Linked DNA regions of Homo sapiens: region 2 is linked to region 1. Evidence: promoter capture Hi-C in 16 types of primary human blood cells and fetal thymus (Javierre and others, 2016). All regions are on one chromosome and are shown on one strand. Each heading gives the region's core, a stretch centred on a gene start or on the middle of the fragment in contact. The rest is flanking DNA. Distances are from core to core; before and after follow the strand shown.

Region 1 (3,120 bases), core at 410-2,909:
CACCAGCCCGGCAGCCCTGGGCAAATGACTTGGCTTCCTGGGGCTCAGGTTATTCCTCTGTTAATGGTAAGACATAAACCCCCTGTGTGGCCCTGGGTTTCCAATAAGTCTGGAGGCTGACCCAGCTCTTGACCCGCAGCAAACCTGAACACATGCTGGGTTCTTTTCTTCGTGGCACTTTATCTTGGCAGTCGTGGGGCTGCCTAGAGCAGCCTGGTGAGGCTGGACTGGAATGCAGGCGCAGGTCTTGCAGGGACCCCATCTTGTCTCTGACACCACAGGAGGCTTGATTCACTGGCTCCTGACCTGGCTGCTCCCTCCCAGCCTGGCTTCCCACCTTCCATGAGGTCTTGGACAACATCCCCTGTCATCCTCCTGGTGCTGGGGACAAGGGGAGGGGAGGGCACAGAGAGGCCTCCAGAGCTGCCTTCCGGGCCCTCCAAGACAGCTAAGTTACAGGAAACCCCTCCTGGGAAGGGAATCATCCAGGAAACTCACTCTGCACCAACCCAGAAAAAGCTCAAGAACTCTGGATAACGAAGGAGCTTCTTAATCTTCCTTCCCCACCTCCAGGTAATGCAGGCTGCAGCCAGCTCCAGAAGAGGGACAGGAGTGTTTGTGGTAGTTGACTCGTCTTCCCTGAGCCCCCGTTTCCTCCTATTTAAATGGGCTATTACTCTAGCTCTTTAAATGCAAAGCCTGTGGCACCAAAACTAGCACATAGTAGAAGCTCAATAAATCTTTCTTTCCTGGGATTAAGTCAAGGGTATAGCACTCAGTTTGACACATACAGTAGGTGCTCAACGAATTTAATTCTCTCTAGGTATGCAAAGTTGCCAGACGATCCCGGCACATAGTAGGTGCTCAATCAATTTCACTTTCTCTGGTCATCTAAGGAATCACTGAGCTTTCCTCCTCCAAGCCTCTACCCTTTCTTCCCGGCTGCTCCACTTCCCCCAGATGCCCAGCTCTGTTGGGGCGTCTCCTACCTGGGAATGGCGGGCCGGGCCTCTGGCACGGCTCAGAGAGCTGCCTGGAAGCGCCGGGAGCTGCGGGGAGCTGCCTGCTGCTCCAGCCGCCGAGCCTCCCAGAGTCTGTGGTGGCTCCCGGGTCACTGCGCGGGGATCCTCCCCTGCGCTGCTCGGGACGCCGGGCTGGGCGCGGCCGGGCAAGGAGGCGCAAGGGGCAGGTGCCCCATGGGTGGGCTCCGAGGGCTCGGCGGGGCCCGGGCAGGGGGCGGGCTCCGGCTCGCCGCCGCCGGCCCTGCCCTGCCCCGAGCCGGGGGCCTCCTGCTGAGCCAGGTGCCCGGAGGCTTGGGGACGTCCGATCCGGGGGTCCCCGCCTGGGGCTCTCGGGCTGGGGGCAGAGAGGTAGGGGCGACTCCAGTGATGAAGGAGCAGCTCCTAGAGACTTGGGGAGGGGGGGTCCTTTGGAGGTGACTGTGGGTGCGTGTCCCAGGTGGGCGAACCCTCCTGGTCGCCTATGCCACCTTCTCCGCCTGCCCCAAAGGGGGTCGCTCGGATGGGGGGTATCGGGCTGCCGGGCTCGGCCGCGGCCTCCTTCTCTGCCCGCGGCTCTGCAGCTCTCCCAGCGCCGGAGGGACGGCTTCTTTCTCCCCGCGCGGCGACGCCAGCAGCTGAAGGAGGAGCAGGGCGCTCTGCTCTGCGCGCGTGTGGGAGGGGGCCTTGAACGCCGCCCCAAGGTTTCGCAGCTCCAAGTTAGCATCAACCCGGCTCCTCCTCCTTCACCTCCTCCTGTCCCCAGATGAGGAGAACTTTGTGTGTGGCCCTGGGTTCTCCCTCCTTCCCCCTCTCGCAGGCAGATGCCCCACTGTCACCCGCAGGGCGAAGAGGTCGCTGATCCCTCCGAAAGGTGGCAGAACCCCAGGCTCCTGATGACGGTCCCAGCGGCACCCTCCCGCGCCCCTGCGAGCGTCGCCCACCTGCTCCTTCGGCCCCCCGCGAGCCGCGCCTCCCGCCGCCCAGCGCCAGCGTCTGCCCCCCAGAGCCCGCTCGCCCCGCCCCACCCCGGCGCCCCGCCTCGCCCCGGCGCCCGGCCAATGGGAGGCGGGTCCCGCGGCCCGGCCCCGCCCATCCCTTTCGCGGCCTCCGGGGCGCCGCGGTCTGCGGTTCCGCGTGTCCGGGCGCGTGGGGCCGGGGCCGCTGGGCGCGCGCACCTTGCCCAGAAGGCGGCCCGGGCCTCGGAGGCTGACGTCTGCGCACGCGCTCACACGCACGCCCGGCCTGGCCGCAGGTGACCCGCATGGGGTCCGGCCGCCTGCCCACTCGGCCGGGGTCTCCAGCGGCTTGCGCCCGGCCAGGTCGAGCGCGCCACGGTTCCAGCGCCCTCCTCCTTCGCGGAAGTCCCCGGGTGCCCTCCCAGGTGTCCAACCTGCCTGTCCCAGCCGCCGCCTCCCTCCCGAGCTCACGGTGCCCACGGGACCCTGCGGACTGGCACATGGGCCATGCACGTGTCGCCCAGAGGGGCGGGGAGTCACCTAGGCTTAGTAGCCAGAGGTCTTCGAGGCATGCGAGTCTCAGAGACCACGGCCGACGGGGACACACCAGGTGCCTTGAGCATTGCGTCTCCTGCCTGCATTCTCCCTCCCCACCTTTAAATGAGGGGCTTGACCTAGGCCAGACATCGGGCCTTCTCACTGGGCCATATCTCCACACCACTTATTACTTAATATATTTTTTAAAATATCAGATCCACTTTCCCCACCCCTTAAACACGTTTTTTTAGAGAATCATTATATCACTGCCTTAAATGGGAAATCAGTATCACTTGCCATAAATAGAAAGTAAGAGTTAAAATAAGCACAGTGAAAACAAAGCAAGGTTATTAAATTCCAGCTGGAAACCGTGGCCTGCCAAGGCTTGAGATGTGTGCCCTCAGTGAAAAAGGGAGATTGGCAAGGTTTGGAGAGGTGTTAAATACCCATTAGCACCTAACAGAGACTTTCTCCTTCACATATCAGGAGGCTTAAAAGAGAATGTTCTCGTTGTGTGATACAGCAAAGGGATGGGATGCTGTGTCTGTGTCCCTCAGTTCCAGATCCCTGGACCTCAGGGATGTCTGCCAGCCTCACCCCCAACCCAGATCTGGCCTCCCTACCTC
Region 2 (3,120 bases), core at 241-2,740, 110 kb after region 1:
TCCAGTCACATGACCAAAGAAACCCAGTATGTTCGGGGCACTGCCCATTCCCTAGGCCTAAGCCCTGGTCAATTCCCAGCCATGGGCACTTCCTGTAAGGGGGAGGGGAGGAGAGCCCAGCATCCTCCTGGGGCTGTTCTGCATGCAGGTGTCAACTGATCACCTGCCCAGAAGTCAGAAGTTTGTGGCTGTGTTCAGAGAAATTTCTGGAGGATCCAGGCCAATGGCCTCCTCATGTCCTCTGAAGGAGGTGGCCCTAGTGACGCGAGGCTGAGTCTTGGGACCCCTCTCCATCTGGCTTTGTGAAGTCACCCTTCCATCCTCATCTGCGAACTGACTCTCCCCCTGGCAAAGCTTGGGTTTCTAGGCCCACAGATAAACGTCTTTTCTACCCACCCCATAATCCCAAGGGCACTTTGCCAGCCCCTTCTCATTTGTTTGTGAAGGTCGGGTGGGGATATGATTACAGCCAGGCTGCCTTCCTAGGACAGGGTCCTGACCCAGAATGGCCTGTGGCCCTGCCCCAATGGGTTTGGACATGGGAAGGTGATGCAGGGGCAGAAAGCCAGGGCTGGGGAGAGCTGAGCAGCTCTGCACAAGAGTGAAGGGGGGAATTGAGGGGGAGAGGGCACGAAGCCAGGGAGATGGAAAAAGGCCAGAAGCCCCGGCCCATGAGATGTGCAGGGTGCAGTGGGCGCTGGCAAAGGAGTAGAAACAGCAGGGCCCCCTCATAGAAAACGTGAAGCCCCCAGGTGCCCCTTCTGCCCAGCTTTCAATAAAGCCTTGCACATAAGAGAGGGCTTTGGTGGAAACTGAGGAAGGGGCTGAACTCCAAGCCTGGATGCTGTCACATGTAACAGCGTGTGGAGGTAGTGGCGAGGCCTGGAAGCTGCGGAAGGTCAGAGAAGCAGGAGCATGAAGCCTCTGGGGCCCATGCGGTCTGTGGGTGGGGAGGCTGTTAAGAGCTGGATCCAGGCCGGGGAGGGCAGGGGTCCCAAACACCATCTTGGACCCATCGGGGCTAGCCATTTTCCCTCCATTTTCTTTTTTTCTTTTTTTTTTTTTTTTTTTGAGACTGAGTTTTGCTCTTGTTGCCCAGGCTGGAGTGCAGTGGTGCGATCTCAGTTCACAACCTCTGCTTCCCAGGTTCAAGCGATTCTCCTGCCTCAGCCTCCCGAGTAGCTGGGATTACAGGCATGCACCACCATGCCCAGCTAATTTTTGTATTGTTAGTAGAGATGGGGTTTCTCCATGTTGATCAGGCTGGTCTTGAACTCCCGACCTCAGGTGATCCGCCCGCCTCGGCCTCCCAAAGTGCTGGGATTACAGGCGTGAGCCACCGCGCCCGGCCATTTCCTTCCATTTTCATTCAACTGGGGGAAGCACAGCAAAAAATACCCTCTCCTTTTCCCTCTCAAGCAGACATGCCCGAGAGGTTGCCCAGCAGGCCTGCAGCAGATGCAGGACTAGAACCCAGGCCTCCGCCTCCAAGGCCAAGTTAGGGAGGCTGGCAGGGGGTGCCTACTGGGTCTCCCCCTCCCTCTGCCTGCCCCTCCTGGCCAGGGTTGTGTCCCACTCAGACCCACTGTGCCAAGGCTTCAGGCGACAAGCCCACAGGACAAAGGCTGCAGCAGGAAGACCCGGGAACAAAGCTGCTGCTGTGTAGACCAAGTTCAAAAATAAGCCAGACTCCCCGAGAGTCTGGTCACCATAGCAACGGGGGAGTTGTTCTGCAGAAGCCTCCTCACTGAAAGGCCCGGTGGCCACCACCTTCTTCCTCCCCTCCCTGAGGAATCAAGTCCCACCAGCACCAGGAGGAGCCTCTGGTGTCTTCACACATGCACATGCTGTCCCACCAAGTCCCCATCGAGGCCCCACCGCGGCCCTGAGAGACAGCCAGGGTCATTGTCACTCTGCACACTGGACCCCTGGGGTTCTGAGACAGAGGTCCTCACCAGGGTCACACACAGCTCAGGTCTGTCTGCCTCCAGGTCCAGCAATGCACAGCAAATTGGGAGGCCTGTATTCAAACTCCCATCTCTCTCCCTGCCTCCCAGCCTCCTCCTCATTCCTTTTTGTTTGTTTGAGATGGAGTCTTGCTCTGTCGCCCAGGCTGGAGTGTAGTGGTGCTATCCCAGCTCACTGCAACCTCCACCTCCCGGGTTCAAGCAATTCTCCTGCCTCAGCCTCCTGAGTAACTGGGACTACAGGCACCTGCCACCATACCCAGCTAATTTTTGTATTTTAGTAGAGATGGGGTTTTGCCACGTTGGCCAGGCTGGTCTTGAACTCCTGACCTCAAGTGATCCACCCACCTCGACCTTCCAAAGTGCTGGGATTACAGGCGTGAGCCACCGCGCCCTGCCTCCTCATTCCTCTGTGCCTCAGTTTCCCCCTCCCACCCAAAGCATTGTCGGGGTAAAGATGGGGACAGTTGTGCGTCCTTCCCAGGCTATTAGTGGTGAACAGGCATGATCACCCATGAGCAGGAACTGTGGGACTCTTGTCATAATCTCCTGTCCTCAGTGTTTCATTACAGCAGTGTCCCGTGTGGCATTCACTAATAGTTCCTCCTTGTGGGGTAAAGGTGTTGTCAGACAGGCTGTGGTAGGAATGCCCAAGCTTTCTCATCCCACTTCTGGAGATAGGCCCTTTCCCGCCTGGTCACAAAAGCAGGAAATGATCTGGACCTGACCAATTGATCTTGGCATCTCATCTCTCTGGCCACTGTGATTGGTCCAGGAGATAATGACTGGCCCAAGCACAGCCAATCAGAGAGCTCCCCTGGGACCGATAAATGGATACTGAGAGAAAAAAGCTCTTTCTTGGCAGAGAGGGTGGGGAGTTCAGGTTACTGACTTGGGACTTCCATGGGGCCTTGTCCCACACAGTGTGTAGAAGATGTATCATCAGGGTTCAGTGACAGACAACGGAATCCATTCCAGCTAGTAGGGAAAAAAAGGGCTTTTTTTTTTCAAGCATATTATTACTAAGTGTCTGAGCATCCAGGAAAGCTGCCTAAAACGCTGCTGAACTGGGCTAAGATGCCAGGGCTCCTGCCTCCATCAAGAAGCTGTGGAATTCAGAAGCCACCATTACAACTGCCAGCTCCAGCATTAG

The links. Contacts are between HindIII fragments. The CHiCAGO score rates a contact against its expected background, and 5 or more counts as called.
Region 2: a contact is called between a fragment that was not itself captured here and the fragment with the promoter of RASD2 in region 1, in 6 of 17 cell types (endothelial precursors, M1 macrophages, M0 macrophages and 3 more). The highest score is 9.8, in endothelial precursors.

Annotation. Positions count from the first base shown.
Region 1 is chr22:35,539,370-35,542,489 of GRCh38, reverse strand. RASD2 (RASD family member 2) reads right to left here and starts at 1,659. Exons shown (of 3, transcript NM_014310.4): 1 at 990-1,659. RefSeq lists enhancers at 1,309-1,871, 1,872-2,434, 2,435-2,997 and a silencer at 1,968-2,187. The HindIII fragment of the contact is 7,504 bases long and covers 1-3,120 here.
Region 2 is chr22:35,434,116-35,437,235 of GRCh38, reverse strand. It overlaps a transcript of MCM5 not described here. Among named protein-coding and RNA genes, the nearest start is that of MCM5, 36 kb to the right of the region's middle. RefSeq lists an enhancer at 1,593-2,094. The HindIII fragment of the contact is 2,268 bases long and covers 357-2,624 here.